Linked DNA regions of Homo sapiens: region 2 is linked to region 1. The links are contacts of gene promoters, found by promoter capture Hi-C in blood cells and fetal thymus (Javierre and others, 2016). All regions are on one chromosome and are shown on one strand. The core of a region is centred on a gene start or on the middle of the fragment in contact, and the rest is flanking DNA. Distances in the headings are between cores, read along the strand shown.

What was found. The method cuts DNA at HindIII sites, captures the fragments that hold promoters and counts their contacts. A CHiCAGO score of 5 or more calls a contact.
Region 2: a fragment that was not itself captured here is called in contact with the fragment with the promoter of RANBP9 in region 1 in 1 of 17 cell types (naive CD4 T cells); the score reaches 6.5 in naive CD4 T cells.

Annotation. Positions count from the first base shown.
Region 1 is chr6:13,709,944-13,713,310 of GRCh38, forward strand. It overlaps RANBP9 (RAN binding protein 9), which reads right to left and starts at 1,892. Exons shown (of 14, transcript NM_005493.3): 1 at 992-1,892. The coding sequence starts at 1,562. It overlaps LOC124901264 (a long non-coding RNA gene), which reads right to left and starts at 2,811. Exons shown (of 2, transcript XR_007059462.1): 1 at 2,740-2,811; 2 at 2,409-2,598. RefSeq lists silencers at 837-956, 1,217-1,266, 1,347-1,466, 1,627-2,396. The HindIII fragment of the contact is 8,985 bases long and covers 1-3,367 here.
Region 2 is chr6:11,533,560-11,536,926 of GRCh38, forward strand. No RefSeq gene overlaps it. Among named protein-coding and RNA genes, the nearest start is that of TMEM170B, 2.5 kb to the right of the region's middle. The HindIII fragment of the contact is 342 bases long and covers 1,665-2,006 here.

The DNA.
Region 1 (3,367 bases), core at 642-3,141:
GCCTAAAACCCTGGATTTGTTTCCAGACAAGACTGATACGTTAGGTTGATTTTTTTTTCTTCCACACAAGTAAACTTGATACATGCTATTAAATTGGGCTACATTTCAATAGTTCCCATAGCAATTCATAATTTTATATACAACTGATTTGCTTCCAGCTTTGTTTTAACCTAGGAGAGGTAGGTGAGGGAGGAAAGGGGCAAGCACAAGCCTAAGGTTGTTGTTTTTAACTGCAAGTGCAAAACATAAGCCAATTTTCTTCAAAATACTAAGCTGCATTTTGTTCCATCTTCGTTTTCAACAAGACTTCATGTGATATCAACACCTAAGGACCTGTATAGGGCACTTCCAATCGGGAGGGGTAGGTTTCTGCTCCCCTAAGAAAAAGGGTGTTCCTGGGGTTCCCTTCTCTTACCCTCCCGGTTGCTTTTACTAAAATATATTGATGGCAAACTTGGGCCCCTTGTCCTTTTGTCCCCCTAGACAATCTCTGGCCTAATTTTGATTACTCCTCCCCCTGTGTATCCCTGCTCTCTCTTAATTAGAAATCATACCTCAGAATCGTGCCTCTCTTCCCCCCTTGTAAGAGGAGAACGCCTGACCCACCACCTGGAGAACAATGTAACCCAACTCCGAGTCCATGGATTCCTCTACCCAAGCCCCAAGATTTATCTCCCAGGGAAATCAGAAAGCCAGTTCTGTCCTGTCATCCCGGATTCCCTCAAGGTGTCCTGCTCCTGGTCTAGGATTACCAGCTCCTTTCTACCCTGGGGCATTCTACTCACCTTCCTTTTCCAAGAATCTCGCCCCTCACCCTCGGACCCTTCACCGCGACCCCCGCGCCCACCCGGAGCAGCACAACAGGCGGCGAGTGGCCTCCGAGGGCAGAGCCCGCGAGGGCGGGGGTCGGGGGCGGGTCGAGAGCGGCGCAGCGGCGGCCGGCCACGTCGGGTCAGTGCCCCACTCCCACCGCAGGACACACGCCCAGTACCTTTGTAGTGCACCCGCAGGTTGTTCTGAGAGAGGCCGATGTAGCTGAACTTGTCCTTCGGGCTCCAGGACCGAGGCAGCGGCGTCTCTTGTTCGTCCACGGCCGGGTAGAGACGCTTCAGCCGCCGCTGCAACTCCTTCTCCTGCTCGTTCAGGGCCGAGTCCCCGTGAGGGAAGGGGGCCGCGGCGCTGCTGCCCGCCACCAGAGCTGGGGTCGGGGCTCCTCCAGCCGGGCCGGGGCCCGCTGCAAGGCCCGGGGGAGCGGGCGGCCCGCTGGCGGGGGCAGCCGCTGAGGCAGGGGGAGGCGGGGGCGGCGGCGGGGGCGGCGGGGCCGCGGTGGCCGGGGGCGGCGGCGGCGGAGGGTGGAGGAGCAGGGCGGCCGCCGCGGCCCCTAAGCCTTCGCCGCCCGCACCGCCGCCGGGCGAGCCGGCCGGAGAAGAGCCGGCGCTGACGGCCGGGGGCGCCGGCAGGACGACTCCGGAGACTGGGGCCAAGGCCGCCGGCGGTGGCGGCGACAGCTGCTGCTGCTGTTGCTGCTGCTGCGGCGGCGGCGGCGGCGGCTGCCCGGACATCCCGGCCGCGACTCAGCCTGCGGCCACCTCCACCTCTTCTCTCCTTCCTCCTCTGCTTCCCGGGGGCGCTGTCGCTGCGGCCGCCGGCACCAGGCGCCCAGTCCGCCCGCCCCGGAAGCAGGCGGCGGGCCGCGCGCCCAGGGAGACCGCGGCGGTTGAGGAGCTCGGAGACGCGGGAGTAGGCGGCGGGCCCGGGAGGCCGGGAGAGAACGTTGGCCGGAGCGCGGGCGCGCGGCCCGGGGACGAGGCGCCGAGGGCGGGGGCGACGCGGGAGCGCGGGAGGGGAAGGCGCGCTGGCGGCCGCCGCGGCCGCTGCTCTCGCGGCTGTTTCCCGGCGGGCGGGCCGGGCCGGCGCGAGACGCTGCGCGCGGGCGGCGCTAGGCGAGGGGGCGGGACGGAGGCGCGAGAGAGGCGCGAGCGGTGCGAGGGGGCGGGCCGCGGGGCTCCCGGCTGTGCGCCGCGAGGCGTCCTCCCGGGCCCGCCAGTCGCTCGTGGGCAGGATCGCTGGGCTCCCGGCGCCGCAGGTCCCTTCGGAGGTGTCCGCCTCCTCTCCCTTGGCGGCCGCCGTCGCCCCCCTCGCCGGCGAATCCCCTCCCACTTGACTTCTTTTTGTTGTCGTCGCCCCACCTCCCCACCGTAGGGCTCCTCGGAGCCGAGGCGCCGCTTCTCGTCCAGGCGAGAGTAATCGAGCCCCGCTGGGGCCGCCGCGAGCCCAGGCCCCGGGGCGCTCTAGGACCCGTCGGCCCGGGGCGTGCGGAGCGGCTCAGGCTCCCCGCGCAGTGCTGCTAGCTCTCGCCTCAGTCCCGTTCCCGTTTGCCGCCTCCCTCCAAAGAGGAACGCATTGCCTTTGGTACTTCAGTGTTTAATTCCGTAGCATTGACCATATGGGCAGTAGAAACCACTTCTGAAGGCAGTCTCCCACTTAGAATAGTGACTGTTTCATTAATTAATTTTACGAGGACTCACAGTGAACTTAACAGTGGTAGAAGATGTCATTAATAAAGACCGGCATATCTTCAAAAAGCAGGAGCAGGCACTGTATGAATACAAGATTATAGTGTGTGTTTAGGAAGGGCTTCTAGAGACGTCAGAACATTTTATAGACTCGTTAATTTTCATAACAGGGTTCTTAGGTAACAGAAAATTATGCCCATTTTTAAAACAAGGAAATATTTACCGAGATCAGCAGAGTCAAAAATAGGACTTCCTACTTTGCAATTCCCAATAGAATGCTTCGTCGACTAATTTGGCACAACTTGCCAAGTGTTGCTCTCTGACCCATCATAACATTACTACTTTGTTTTCACCACTTCCCTTTGTTTAGCTTATCCCTCCCTAGCTGGCAAAATCAGGCTTTGCATATGTAAATTGTGTGATGTAAATTCTGATATTTTGTTTGCTTCCAAAGATATGATGGTAATCATTTGGTCAAATAAGAAATGTTTTGCCGAAGAGAAAATTATTTCGTTTTGAAGAAGGTAGGCCAAAGGTGATTTAATTTAAGGCCAAGATTATCTGGCCAGAACAAATAACAGAGTCATTCGGCCTAATTTCTCCCTCAGTTACCCAGACAACTAGATGTTCTGTTGTACTTTTATTATTATTATTATTATTGTTTTGTCGCCCAGGCTGGAGTGCAGTTGTGTGGTCTCAGCTCACTACAACTTCCGCCTCCCGGGTTCAAGCGATTCTCCTGCCTCAGCCTCCCAAGTAGCTGGGACTACAGGCATGTGCTCACACCCAGCTAATTTTTGTACTTGTAGTGGAGACGGGGTTTCACCATGTTGGCCAGGCTGGTCTCGAAC
Region 2 (3,367 bases), core at 586-3,085, 2.2 Mb before region 1:
GAAATACTTTTTTAAAAGAAGCAACAAAAATAGAAATAATAATATAACTATGATGCAAGTAATACCACATATTTATTATATCAACGACTAGAAATTATCTAGAAGTTCTTCTATTAAATTAGAAATTTCATATTGGAATACGATGTCAAACTCCTAAAACAAAATTATTCAAAGTTGAAAAAGAATGGAAAAATACATATCAGGCAAATGCAAACAGAAAGCAGGACTTAAGACCTTAACATCAGACAAGATTCACATAAATTTTAAAAGCATTTTATAATGGAAATTAATATATTTTTAATTTAAGAAAGCAAAATCACAAATCTTACATACATATGTGTTCACTAAAACACATAGAATCAAAATTCGTAAAGCGCAAACTACAAAAAGTACACAGAAATATAGGCTGAAATATATTATTTGTAGAAGACTTAACCTCACTCAGCCTGTGTTAAGACTGCATTATTTGTTCATTACCATTTGTTGCCCCCTCCCATTCATTCTTTCCATCCTTCTCTGTAGGCAGAATATACTTTTTTATCCCATTCACTTAGGGGCTTAACTATGCAATCTGCTTCAAACAAGGGAATGTGGATATGTGACATGCATGTGACATGGACCCCATATCTGAGCATGAACTTTAAATGCACCTGTGTAGTTTAGCCCTGCCTCTCTTGTCCATGCCAGAGCTGGGATAAGGATGAGGTGGGTGAGACAAGGTCTTGCAAGTGCAGGGTGAGATTCTGTGTTTATTTAAAATTTTGGTATTTCATTAATCATGGATTTTTGCATGAATTTTTATTTTTAAAAATATTATATTAGTATATTATTTATCTTGATAACAGAGTGTTTCAGAGTCTGTTGTCAAGACTTGCAGGCAAGGCTTTGCAGGCAAGGCCAGTGTCCCATTGTAGCCCTGGTTCCAGCCCTATACCATGAGAATGGCATGTACTCAGAGCGTGACATCTTCCTCAGCCTCAGGTATGAAATGAGAAGACCTGTGGAGCTGGACTGAGCTGAATCAAGCTGAATCAGTCTAGATTTTGGACTTGCATGGGGCCTGTAGCTCCTTTGTTGTGGCCAATGTCTCCCATTCGGAATGGCTGTATTTATCCAATGCGTGTACCCCCATTGTATCTAGGAAGTAACTAACTTGCTTTTGATTTTACAGGCTTATAGGCGGAAGGGACTAGCCTTGTTTCAGATGAGACTTTGGACTGTGGACTATTGAGTTGATGCTGAAATGAGTTAAGACCTTGGGGAACTGTTGGGAAGGCATGATTGATTTTGAAATGTGAGGACATGAGAGTTGGCAGGGACCAGGGGAGGAATGATATAATTTGGCTCTGTATGGTTTTATCAAGGGTCTCCACTTTTGCGTCTTCCTCATTCTCTCGTTGCCTGCTGCCACCCATGTAAGACGGGACTTGCTCCTCCTTGCCTTCCACCATGATTGTGAGGCTTCCCCAGTCACATGGAACTGTAAGTCCAATTAAACCTCTTCCTTTATAAATTGCCCAGTTTTGGGTATGTCTTTATCTGCAGCGTGAAAATGGACTAATACGTTAAGTTGATACCAGTAGAGTGGGGTGCTTCTGAAAAGATACCTGAAAATGTTTTTCTCAAAAGATCAATATCATTTTATATTTTAATTGATTTTAAAAAGCTTTCCTCTAGGTTGTCTCTGGACAGTTTTAAAAATGACTAAGGCTAATGGGTGTTCCCTCACTTACATGAGAGAAATAAACCAGGAATTTTGGTTTATGAATTACGTTTGTGAATTGTTTCATGCTGAAGGGCACAGAGTTGAAAGGAAATTTTTGGATTCACTTGGGGTGGTCCCTGATTTCTGACAGGAACGTGACTAAACTCTTCCTGAATTGGTGTATTAATTCAAAATAAAAAATCTGTAGGAAAGAAATTCCAAAACTTTCATTTGTATTAACTCAGTTTTGGGTTTCATAACTCTGGCTGTTGGGAAAATGTCTAATTCTCTTAAGGATATAAGCTTCCAACACAGTCAAGATCATTACTTTTATCAAGGAAAACCTAAGTAGCCTAGAGAGTAGAGATCTTATCTTCAAATGTTACAGATAACACCTTGCACAGAACATTACAGATAGTAGATGCCAAATAAATATAGACGCCAATTAAATTGAACTGAACAGCAGGGGTGAAGTTGTTGGGCAGCAAATAACATTACTGACTTGAGACTTCATTGCTGTGTCTTTCTCATTTCCTGACATGAACACTTGGATTCTGTAAAAAATATTTATTCAGAACAAGAACAATGCTGACTTTTCTATGAAGATCATTCAGTGATTCATTCAACAAATATTTGTGGTGCAGGTGCCAGGCACTGTCCCAGGTTCTGAATATTTTCACTGCGTGCTACTGTGTTTTAAATAATAGTGTGCAATCCTAAGAACGTAAACTAACTAAAGGTTTCTGATATGAGAGTTTAATGAGCCCCTGCTCAGGGAGTTTGCTGTGAACCCTTCACTGAATGTGGTCACATTCCCTAACATCACTAATTATGTAATGCCAAGTCCCTTAAGAATATCATTAGGTAACCTGCACTTCCCCATCAAGAATCTTAAAGTGAGGGAGTTAACAGTGGGTTAAGAAAGATAATGTGGTTGCTAGAAAGAATAATAGACCAGGAATTCAGAAACTGAGCTGTGAAGTGCTGTCATCTCTGTCAAGTCACTTAATTCACAGAATCTGTTTCCCTATCTGTAAAATAAAATTAGAAAAATGTTAAAGCGCTCTTTTAGGTTTGATATTCTGTAATCTTGTTAATAGATCTAATTAAGTCTAAATTCTAGGAGGAAGATAAACTCTACATTAAGAGTTTTGGCTCAATTCCTATTAATGGTGCAAAAATTTCTCTTATGTTGTGACATCAAAAAGAAAATACAAATAAACAAAGAAATAAATGTGTATGTAAATATTATTTTAAAGTGGTCACCAAGAGCACCATTTGACAGGTAATTTGACCCTTCAGTGCTTTGTCAAATATACTTCATGATTTAGCTACAGCAGGTATTTCTTCACTTCTCTTTGTAAATTTTTCTTTATCCAGATGGCAGAGGGGTTGAAAAAAGGTGGGGGGAGGGGCTGGCTACTGCATATTTATGTTACTGCTAAAACTTAAATTTTTATTTTTTAAAGTTAGAAGGTTTCCAATTTCGAGGAGTTTAACTTGTAGTTGGATTTTAGATGCTCCTCTGGCTAACGCTGGACATGAAGACAGACAGCAAAGCGTGGGGAGAGAGATCTAGTTTAAGTTCGAGGGAAAAAAATAACAGACGCAACTTAGATAAAAGAATACTACCATCAAAAAAAGGGGGGCTAGAGCCGGCGA